Linked DNA regions of Homo sapiens: region 2 is linked to region 1. The links are contacts of gene promoters, found by promoter capture Hi-C in human tissues and cell types (Jung and others, 2019). All regions are on one chromosome and are shown on one strand. Each heading gives the region's core, a stretch centred on a gene start or on the middle of the fragment in contact. The rest is flanking DNA. Distances are from core to core; before and after follow the strand shown. Region 1 holds the start of SPACA7 (sperm acrosome associated 7). Region 2 overlaps LOC107984618 (a long non-coding RNA gene).

Evidence for each region. The method cuts DNA at HindIII sites, captures the fragments that hold promoters and counts their contacts. A contact is called where the count stands out against the background at its distance.
Region 2: a contact is called between a fragment that was not itself captured here and the fragment with the promoter of SPACA7 in region 1, in 1 of the 25 tissues and cell types used here (dorsolateral prefrontal cortex).

Annotation. Positions count from the first base shown.
Region 1 is chr13:112,373,811-112,379,701 of GRCh38, forward strand. SPACA7 (sperm acrosome associated 7) reads left to right here and starts at 2,545. Exons shown (of 7, transcript NM_145248.5): 1 at 2,545-2,669. The coding sequence starts at 2,576. It overlaps LOC105370373 (a long non-coding RNA gene), which reads right to left and starts at 2,468. Exons shown (of 3, transcript XR_944295.3): 1 at 2,314-2,468. LOC105370372 (a long non-coding RNA gene) reads right to left here. Exons shown (of 5, transcript XR_944294.2): 4 at 5,197-5,255; 5 at 4,928-5,056. RefSeq lists an enhancer at 3,997-5,196. The HindIII fragment of the contact is 14,702 bases long and covers 1-5,138 here.
Region 2 is chr13:111,452,261-111,458,151 of GRCh38, forward strand. LOC107984618 (a long non-coding RNA gene) reads left to right here. Exons shown (of 3, transcript XR_001750032.2): 3 at 1-467. Among named protein-coding and RNA genes, the nearest start is that of TEX29, 130 kb to the left of the region's middle. The HindIII fragment of the contact is 4,337 bases long and covers 1,618-5,891 here.

The DNA.
Region 1 (5,891 bases), core at 1,295-3,794:
AGAGCTCTGTGAACTAAGCCAGTCTGACTACCATATATATTTTTTAGACAGAGTCTTGCTCTGTCACCCAGGCTGGAGTGCAGTGGCGCGATCTCCGCTCACTGCAAGCTCCGCCTCCCAGGTTCATGCCATTCTCCTGCCTCAGCCTCCCGAGTAGCTGGGACTACAGGTGCCCACCCAGTTAATTTTTTTGTATTTTTAGTAGAGACGGGGTTTCACCGTGTTAGCCAGGATGGTCTTGATCTCCTGACCTCGTGATCCGCCCACCTCGGCCTCCCAAAGTGCTGGGATTACAGGCGTGAGCTACCGCGCCCGGCCTCTGACTACCATATTTTAGTGCTCAAATCTGTTCCTCCACTCCTGCATCTGGGATTAGTTTGACTCATTTGGCCGATGAGACATTAGCAAATGTGGTGCAAGAAAAGGCTTGTTTGCATCGAGGCTTACTCTCCTTTCTGCTGTGACCAAGCCCAGGCTGCCTGCTAGAGGCCGAGAGACCACATGGAGGGAAGCCTCAGCCATCCCAAGCCCCAGCATCCTAGCTAAGGCCTCAGACATGTCCATGAGGCCACACTAGGCCAGCAGCCCCCAGAGCCAACCCACAAAGTTGTAAGCAATCACACATGGGCTGTATCAAGTCACCGAGCTTCGGGCAGCCTTGAGAATGACTCCTTCCTCGACCAAATCAGCGAGGCTCCTCTGACCCCTCTTCTCAACGAGGCCTCGCCCCCAGCCCTGATCAAATTCCTCATCCTCCGCCTTGAGGTGGAAGTCCCTGGCCTGCCTTAGCCAGACATCCCTCCTTGGTGCAGTGGGTGTCGTTCGACAGGCAGCAGTGCAGGGTTCTGCTGTCATGGGAGCTCTGGCTGCTGTCCGTTTGTACATTCAGCCTCTTAGGCCCATGCTGCTGGCCCCAAAATGACATTCTGAGTAGCAAGAGCCTGGGTTATAGAAGCAAGCATCTCACTTGGACCATTCATTAACTCAGAGTGGGACTTGGAACCCACTGGGTTTCTGTAAATGTCAACCATGCTTAGTGTGCCTTTATGGACACGCTGAAAATCTGAAATATACTCCCCACACCTTGAGGTAGATTGGCTACCACTGCATCTATCAAAAGGAAAACCTGAGCAAAAATGTGCTGTGGGTTCCCATACAAGCAATAAAAATTAAAGAGCCAGAGACCCATGGTGGGTCAGCCATCCTTGGGGTCCTGACCAGACCTCGGGGGCATTGTTAGTCTTGTGCGTCCAGGGCCCCAGTGATATGGTTTGGCTCTGTGTCCTCACCCAAGCATCATCTTGAATTATAATCCTCATAATCCCACGTGTTGAGGGAGGGACTTGGTGGGAGGCGATCTGATCATGGGAGTGGATTCCTGCATGCTGTTCTCATGATAAGTGAGTTCTCACTAGAGCTGATGGTTTTATAAGTGTTTAACAGCTCCTCCTTCATGTACTCTCTCTCCTGCCGCCTTGTGAAGAAGGTGCCTGCTTCCCCTTCCGTCATGATTGTAAGTTTCCTGAGGCCTCCCCAGCCATGCAGAACTGTGAGTCAATTAAATCTCTTTTCTTTATAAATTACCCAGTCTCAGGGAAGTTCTATATAGCAGTGTGGGAACAGACAAACACACCAGCCCTCTCCACCATGGAGCTGGGATCTGAGGGCTGTTCACCTGGGACCCCACCACCGGCCGAGTCTAGACCAGCTGCCCCACTCTGAGCCCTGGATGTAGGAGTCAGTCCAGGGGTGAGATAGGATCCAGGGGAGCCAACCAGAGTGACTCCTTTGGGGTTTTGTCACTGCACGGATGGAGAAAGCTCTAGAAAGTCTAGGAGATAGAGCTGGGAGGATGATAACATGGAAATGCAGCCATGTTCTCCTCTCGTGATTAAAGTCTCACTGCCAGGGAAAGATTGGGGCTGATGCTGAGAAAGAAGGTGTGGGGGAAAGGAGGCTGAAACCTGGGTCATCTGTCTCCTGTTCTTCATGATCCTGGAACTTTGAGGGTGGGGGAGGGTGGGAGGGGACATGGGGCCACGGGCCTCTGTTCTTCAAGGCTCTGTTCTTCAAGGGACCTTTAAGAGGTGATTAGACCCTCTGGATCTGTCGGTTCTGGCACTTGCTCTGTAATTCAACCACCTCTCCAGCATCCTTCAAATACGCCTCTTTCCATGGGAGCAGATTTTGTTGGCTTTTGGCCACTGGCCCTTAAGTCCTGATTAGTATCTACCCCTTGAGTCCTCAGGGTGCTCAGGACAGAGGAAGTCACCAGAACAGGCAATAAGAAAGAGTGGAGAGGATCTCTGTTACCTTAAGACCCCAGTGAGCCTCCTCCCTGCTTCCCAGTCACAGACTCTGGACAGAAACCCTGCCCCCCGCCCCTGGCAAGATGCCAGCTCCCTTCCTGGTCCTGATGTCACAGGTCCCTGGACATGACCTCCCCACCAGGGCAGGACCCCAGCTCCCTTCCTGGTTGTGATGTCACAGGTCCTGACATTCCACAGTGTCCTGGAGACCAAGGATGGGAAACTGTCAACCTTCAGAACGTCCTTCTCCCTCAGCTGGAGGGAGCATGGCAGTGAGCCAAGGAGACGGGACCCTCTGCTTTGTCCTCCTGCTGTGCTGTTGGCAAGAAACTGAGCTCCGGCCGAGAACCGTGATTCCAGGTAGGGCCCCACAGGGATGTCTCAGCAGAAAGAGAACTGAACCAGGTGGGGAGCGGCGGCCTCTTCTCCCATGGGTTCCTCTTATTCCCAACCTACATGAATTTACCATTTATTCCTTGGGGAATGAATGTAGCTGAAAAGTCTTTCTATCTTTGAAGACTTTTTAAAATCTAGATGTCCATAGGAAAGTTGCAAATGTTACTTATTTTAACTTTTTATTATGGAAAATTTCTAACTGGGAAGAATATCATGAACCTTCGTGTATTCACCCTCAGGTTCAATTATTGTGCATATTTTGTTTTTTTCTACACACACACACATACACACTCCACACCACATACACACACTTTTCTTGTTTGGGGAGTATTTTAGCACCATCCCAGATGCCTTACCACCTCATGTAAAACATTTTCTTGCGAAGAGATAAAAGCATTATCTACAATGTCATAATCAGACTAACATAATTACCAAAAGCCTTTATCTCAGCTCATACCGTTAAAAAATATTTGTGATGCTTGCTAAAGATGGGCAGGCAGCCTTTATTCAAAGGGGGCTACTACCATGGTGTCTCATAATAGTGGAGAGTGGGCTCAACTCCAAATACAGGGAAAGTGGAGATTTGCAGCCAAGGATCAGGGTGGGTCAGTGGATGAACATTGCTAAAAGGTAGGAGAATTCTTTGCTAAACTGATTCAGCAAAGGCCAAGAGGGCTTTTATAAACAAAAATGAAGCATTTATATTTTTTGTCCCACCTGATTACTCTAGAATTTGGATATTATGATTTTCAGGACCATACAATTGTTTGCATAAGTTTAATAAAAATTGATTATCCTTGCAACAGGACACAAAGGTCTGCTATCTTTGAAGACCTTTTAAAATCTAGACATCCATGAGAGAGTTGCATATGTTACTTATTTTAACTTTTTATTATGGAAAATTTCTAACTTGGAAGAATATCATGAACCTCCATGTATTCACCCTCTAGTTCAATTATTGTGTATATTGTGTTCGGCCAAACAGGAGGCCAGACCTGAAAGGAAGCCAAGGCAATAAAATAATCAAAGATGGAGGGTGAGGAATTTGATCAGATATCAAGGGTGACCAGGCCAAGACTAGGGGATTTCCACTAAAAGACTTCACAGGATTCCTACTAAACATGGGGAAAAGCAGACAAAAGCAGAAGCTAGGGTCAAGGCCTAGTCAAAGAGAAGACTCAGAGGAGCCTGGCATGAGGTAAGTCAAGGAGCGAGGCTTTCTCATTCCCTCCTCTTGTTCAAGAAAGAAGAGACATTCCTTTTCTCTTTGAACAAGATAAGTCCATGTTTCATCTGGTGGAGGATGTGTGCTGGATGGTACAAGTAGTCGGGAATTTAATGAGGGGAATGTCTACGAAAAAGAGAAGAAAAACAAAGATTTATAGTTGGAAACACAGTTTCCGAATCCAGAGGGCAGTCTGTTGAGAAGATTTCTGGATTTTGGGCTCAAGGTATCTTCAGCCGATGGGGCAAGGATGGATTTCCTAGTTTGCAGGGGGTGTGTCCTTGGTGACATCATGACCATCAGAGCCACAGTCATGGTTATGCTGGGGGCAGAGCGTGGATGTGTCCAGCTTCAGCCTTTCCAGATGGTCCCACGGAAGGCCTGAGTTGTCAGGCTTTAGTTCTCACTAACACCCAGTCAGGAGGGCAGAAGAAAGACTGGAAATGTTAGCCTGGGAACATTGAAGGACTCTAAAAGGCTTCAGGATCCAGTCCAGTTTACAGGTAGATAACAAAGTAGAAAGTAAGGTGGAGTTTATCAAAAGATAAAAAAAAGTAGAATACACAGGGTTATAACTCACAAGGGTGTGCTACCATTTTTCATTAAAACATAAAATATGGCTCTATGGTCACCCTCTTTTTTTGATCAAGATAACCAAAGTAATGCTATTCTTGTCTCAAAAATATATCACATCTTACAAGATTTGGTCTGATTATTTACATAAGTGCAGCAAGAATGGTAATGGACCACATAAACTGAGTTTTCTCTGCTGGAGCTTTTTACAAGGAATCTCAGATTAGATTTTTTAAAAGCTTTTTGAGGCTAGGAAGCCCAGCCAAAAACTCACCATCAGACTTCACATGTGGTACCTAAAGACTTGGGTGAATTTCTCTCTTCCGAAGGTCTCGAGGTTCCCAAAGTTCCTGGATCTGCCAGCAAATGACCTTCTTCACTCACCTGTGGGATGGGGACCCGGTGAGCCAGGTAGCAGGTCAGTTTCTCCAGCTCCATCAAATCAACCTCAGTTTTTAAAAACTGTCTGGTCACCTCTGATTCTATGTATCAATCTCAAATATGACATTCCAGTCAAAGCCTTGGTAATATGACCAATGTTTCCAATCGTGTCCTGTTGCAAGGAGAATCAATTTTTATTAAACTTACGCAAACAATTGTATGGTCCTGAAAATCATAATATCCAAATTCTAGAGTAATCAGGTGGGACAAAAAATATAAATGCTTCATTTTTGTTTATGAAAGTGTAATTACCAAATTGTTGTCCGTTATGCGTAGCCTAAGAGAAACCGGAAGCAGAGAGTTCTTTAAATCTGGAAAACAAAACATTAAAAAACCAGAAACATTTCCAAGAAAATTCAGAAAAATTATAATCGTCCCCACATTGAGTCCCACATCATTAATTCTTGTTCTACTTGATCTTGGGTTAGCAGGTTTACAAATCCGTCAATGTCTCCCTGAGTTCTGGAAAAGTCCAGTCTAATAGTGCAATCTTAGAGGCGTCAGAAACCTTACTCCAGAGTACTTGGCAGAGTCTTACCTAAAAATCTCCTTGAAGACAAAGAATTTTTGGACTGTAGCTGATTGCAAAAGCTTTCAAAAAAGCATCAGAGTAAAACAATAATTGTCTTGAATGACAAAAGACATAAAATGCATAAAATGGCCATGGTTAAAAATCTGATGAGAGTTCATTATGCTGCAATTGACAAGGAAATTTGGTTGTTTCTGTGACATACAACATTACAAGACAATAACGGAAATTAGGACTCATAACTTTATACCAGGACATATCATGGACAGTAAGGACAGTGAAAATTTCTAGGAATTTAATACAATTTCTGAAACACTTATAACATATATGCATACAAATATAAAGAAGGTTAAACATCCCTTATTTGACAATGCTTTTTACGAATTTAATGTATCAAATAAAGCTAATTAGTTTAACA
Region 2 (5,891 bases), core at 2,536-5,035, 920 kb before region 1:
CGAGGAAGAAAGCACTGCGCCTGGGAACACATGCAAGCTTGCGTTCACGGATCCACACGCTGTGCCAGACTCCTTCTAAGGCCTTTCATTAAAGCCATTTCTATGTCAGGACAAGCAGGTAGGAGGAGGGTACAGGTGATACTTTCAGACTTGGTCCTACAATGGGCACTGCTGCCTAACAGAGTGTGAGTGCAAGAGGCTCTCACAGTGTGTGGCTGCTTCCTCAGGGGTAAGACGGGGTGAAGCCCCACACCCCAGCTGGCAGCCACCGACACATGGCTGGATCCCAGTACAGTTCCCTCCTGATATGGTTTGGCTTTGTGTCCCCACTCGAATCTCATGTTGAATTGTAATTTCCAGTGTGGATGGAGGGACCTGTTAGGGGGTGATTAGATTGGGGGGTGGATTTCCCCCTTGCTGTTCTTGTGATGAAGTTCTCAGGAGATCTGGTTGTTTGAAAGTGTGCAGCACCTCTCCCTTCTCTCTCTCTCCTGCTGCATCTTGTGAAGAATGCTCACTTCCCCTTCGCCTTCCGCCATGATAGTTAAGTTTCCCGAGGCTTCCTAGTCATGCTTCCTGTACAGTTTGTGGAACTGTGAGTCAATTAAATTTCTTTGTATCATAAATTATGCAGTCTCAGATAGTTCTTTATAGCAATTCAAGATCAGACTAATACACCTCCCCATTCTCCATCCTTTTAAACCTTATTCCAATGTCAACATTCACTCTAACATTTTTTAAGATTCCTACAATGAAGAAAGTAATGTCCTTAACTTTACATTAAAAAGAAAAACAAACTCGGAATATAGAGTTTCTCTGCTGTTTTCTATCCAGGCATGGAATAGAAATTAATGTGCATGAGTGTTTTCTCTGGATGTAAATGACAGGCTGGTGTTTCTATTAGAAGATGCCATTTCAGACCAACTCTCTATCTGGGAATAACTCTCCAGGAACATGCTGCTACATTTGGTGAACCCATTTACAGTTGTGGAAAAGCCACAGTGAAGTCTCTTTGTGGAATAGAAGTGACATGATTTATAATAAGATCAGATCTGCAATCTATGACCTTTGATATAAATTATTTAGGACCAATAATATCAGAAAAGATGTTTAGTTCTAACTTGTCAAAAGTATTTTTTTAAAAGACAGCTTTTTTGAGGCTTAATTGACACACAATAAACTGTTCATCTTTAAAGGGTATAATTTGATAAGTTTTGATAAATGTATAGAAATGAGAAACCATCAACACAATGAAAAGAACAAACGAATTTCTCACTCTTAAAAGTTTTCTTATTTCATTTTGTAACCTCCTCTCTCATTCCCTTGTCCCATCAAATACTCTAGATTAGTTTATATTTTCTAGAGCTTTATAAAGTGGAATAATATAGTATGTGGTCCTTTTAGTCTGGCTTCTTTCAGAGTCCAGTGGGATTCTCAAAAACAGCTACTGGAACTAATCAGTGAGTTTAGCAAGGTTGCAAGATATAAGGTCAATATGTAAAAATATATCAAATTTCTAGGTACTAGAAGCTAACATATAGAAACAAAAACTACTATTTATGAAAGTAGCAAATAATATAAACTATTTAGAAATACATCCAACAAAAATATGTAGAAAGTTCACTGCAAACTATAAAATATTGCTGAGAGAAATTAAAGAAGCTCTAAATAAATGTAGAGATATACCATGTTCATGGATCAGAAGATTTAATAGTCTTAAGATGTCAGTTCTCCCCACATTTATCTGAAGATTCAACATGATACCAATTAAAATTCTAGCAGGCTTTTTTGGTATAAATTGATGAGATGCTTATGAAAATTATACGGAACTGCCAAGGACCTAAAGTAGCCAAAACAATTTTGAGAAAGAGAAACAAGTTTGAAAGACTTACACTTTCTATTTTATGATTTATTATAAAGTTACGGAGATCAAAACAATGTGATTTTGGTGTACAGAGAGAGACAGACAATTAAAGGAAGAGAGTAGAGAGCACATACATAGAATCACACATATATGGATAATTGATTTTTGATAAAGATACAAAGGCAATGGAGTAGAGAAAGAATAGTCTTTTCAATAAATCATTCCAGAAAAATTGGGTATCCATTTACAAAAGGGAACTTTAATTCATACCTCACACCACAAGCAAAGGTGAACTCAAAATAGATTGCACTTATAAATGTAAAACCTAAAACTATAAAACTTCAAGAAGTAAACACAAGATAAAATCTTTATGACCTTGGATTAGGTAAGATTTCTCAGGCATATTATAAAAAACACAATTATAAAAGAAAATAATTGACAAATTAGGCTTCATAAAAATTAAGATCATCAGTTTTTCAAAAGATGTTTTTTGGAGAATGAAAAGTCAGGGCACAGACTAGGAGAAAACCATGTGTCTAATAAAGAACATGTATTTAGACTATCAAAGGGACTCTTAAAGAAGATATGCAGATGAGGAGCTGGTGGTTTCCTAAGTGGTTAGACATACACCTACCATAAGGTTGCCATTCCACCTATGGGTATTTACTCAAAAACAAAACAACAACAACAAAAAAAACCTTGTATGTCCAAACAAAGACTTGTACATGGATGCTTAGCATTTTTTTTCTTTTTTTGTGATGGAGTTTCACTCTTGTCACCCAGGCTGGAGTGCAATGGCATGATCTCTGCTCACTGCAACTTCTACCCCCTGGGTTCAAGCAATTCTCCTGCCTCAGCCTCCTGAGTAGCTGAGATTACAGGTGCCCACCACCACGCCTGGTTAATTTTTATATTTTTAGTAGAGGTGGGGGTTTCACCATGTTGACCAGGCTGGTCTTGAACTCCTGTCCTCAGGTGATCTACCCACCTTGGTCTCCCAAAGTGCTGGGATTACAGATGTGGGCAACCACACCCAGCCAAATGCTCAGTATTTGTAATAGCCCAAAGTGAAACAATTCAAGCACCCCTCATGTTGAAATGTAATCTTCAATGTTGGAGGTGGGTCCTACTGGGAAGTGTTCGGGTCATGGTTGTGGATCACTTATGAGTGGCTTGATGCCCTTCCCATGGTAATGAGTGAGTTCTCACTCTATTAGTTCACAGGAGAGCTGGCTGTTAAAAGGAGTCTGTCACCTCCTCCCCCGTCTCTCATGCTCCTTCTTTTGCCATGTGACACACCTGTTCCCTCTTTGCCTTCTGCCATGATTGGAAGCTTCCTAAGACTTCCTCAAGAAGCCGGGAAGATGCTGGTGCCAAGCTTGTGCAGCCTGCAGTACTGTGAACCAATTACACCTGTTTTCTTTATAAATTACCCAGCCTCAGGTATTCCTTTATAGCAACACAAAGCAGACTAATACATGTACAATAGAATACTACTTAGGAATGTAAAGGAATAAATATTGATACTTACAACAACATGGATGAATTTCAGAATAATCATGCTGAGCAAAAGTCAGGCAAAAGGATGCATCCTTTATTCTTTCATTTATATAAAATTCTAGAAAATGTAAACTAATCTACAGTGACAAAGTAGGGCAGGGGCCTATGGGAGGGAGAGAGGGAAGGATGATGAAGGAGCATGAGGAAGCTTGGGCTGATGGACGTGTTCGCTATCTTGATTGTGGTGATGGTTTCGTAGGCATATGTTTATGTCAAACCTCAAATCACACAATTTAAGTAAATGCCATTTATTGTATGCCAATTATATTTCAATAAAAATATATTCTTCCATTTCCCCCAAAAAACGCTAGAGAAATGCCTCAGGCAGAACCTTAGTGAGACAATGTATTTAATGCATCTAGAGCAGGGCCTGATGTATCAGGTGCACTCAATAAAGGGTACTTTTCTTTCACTTTCCTTCCCCACCCCATCAAAATATTTAGATTACTGTACATCCAGTACAGAAACTTGTAGTTTCTCCTGTACAGATTATGGTGGAGCAGAAAGGCACTCATGTTTTGATCCTCAAAGGTCATTCAATACTATTTGTTTGAGGCTGAAACTTTTCAATGCTTTCACAGTATTTGGAACAAGACATGATTACCAGAAGCACATGTAGTTCAGTGTTGAAATTTCATTTTTTTGAAATGCATCTGGGTTTTAAAAATGTAGTTGCATGATTGAGCTTTTGCATGGAGGCCATCTTCATCCAGGAAGCATTTATTGAGGGCCCTCCGAGGTGTTTCTGACGCGTAGCAAAGGCTGTTAAATGAGTTACAGAAACGACCCAGCACGGCCGACACCTCCTTGTTCGGCTGTTGGCAGTTCTGTTCTTTGCCGCCTCCTTCCTGGTGGGCTCTGGGTGAGCCACTGCCATATACACTCTTTTATGTTGGTGTCTTTCCCTTTATCGCTGTCACTGTGTGCCTGTCTCAGCAGTGTCGTGCCTAAGTGTGTTGCGACATCTCCACTTCCACCCATTTCTGTGGAGGCTTCCTTCATTTTTGGTGCCAAGAGGTACCACGTGCCTGAAGCTGAGTTGCACCAAGGGAGGCTCTGGAATGTCAGGCACCAGTCTTTGAACCTACATGCAAGAAACGGTGAAATAATTTGATTTCCTCTCAAGAGGGGAATACAGGATGCAAAATGGAGACCTTTGTGTATGGAAGCCTTTGATGAGACTTGTGCCTGGAGGCCTTCTTTCAATGGTGACCGCAATGTGGGCAAAGCCTCCCTTGCAGAACCTCCAGCGAGTGTGGAAGAAGCCGCCCAGGAAGCTTTTGCCATATGGTGAGGGGGACCCACAGGAGGGAGCCATGCTCCCTGAGAGCAGGCTTCATCCCGGACGCTGGCCTGGGGTGTCTGGCACGTGCTGCCATTCCCCCATTTCCACCAGCCTGGCGCTGGGATGCAGCAAATGACTGCATGCAACTTACAAATGCATCGTGGATTCCACCAAATGATAAACGAGAGGATATTGTCCCCTGAGCTCACAAATGAAAAGTCAACAATTTAAGCAACAGTTGATGTCCCGCTTGTCTACCCCCAGTGACCCTGGTTTCATGGGGCAGAAAGGGCTCTTGCCTCTGTCTCTGTGTAACTGCTGACTGTACCTTGAAGTGCACCCTTTATCAGAGATAGATGCTATCAGTCAAAGTCGGTATCAGGACAATTCTCCACTGATACATGGAGTTAAATCTACAGTTGTGTGAGTTCCCAGGAAGCTCTTAACTCCAGGGAAAGTGGAGAGATGGAGAGCTTATTCCATAACATTTTTGTTAGACTTCCTCTCATTCTTTTCTTTGCAGCATCTACACCACTTGCAGAGACCCTGAATTAGTGTTTTTGGGATTATGTATGTGTACTGAAGACAGCAATTTAACTCTGAGTGTACCCTCCTAATATTCATGGAAACTGATTCTAATTACACTCTTGTCTCTTGGGTTAACGACTTCTAAATAGTGCCTTCACTCACCGCCCTTTCCCGATTGTCTGGCATTGTAAAGCCTCCATGCAGCGTGTGCGGGGAGGTAGGGTGCTATGCTGTTCTTTCTCAGGGAACTCCCTGGCTGCTGTAGTGACCGCCATTCCTTATCTAAATACTCACAGTGGGAGCTTTTGAATTTTCCTCCGTTGCATGTTTTTGGCACTTCTCAAGACAAGGTCCATGGGGCATTGGTGACCTTCAGGGGTCCTTTGGTGCTCATGGCTCAGAATGCAGGGGAGCAGCACCAGGGCTGGCTATCTCCTGATGGAGGCGGGGCGCTGGGGGTCGGAGGCACGGGCCCACAGCACGGGCAGCCCTAGCTCCGCTGCTCCCCAAGCTCTGCTGCTCCCCAGCTGTGTGGCCTGGGGTGCAGTAACCGGGTCTTTCTCTTTTCTCTATTTCTGAGTCTTTGACTTTGCTGAGCCTGGAAGGACGGCCCATTGCAGGGTCGGCCAATTCCTTGATAGTGATCACCTCACC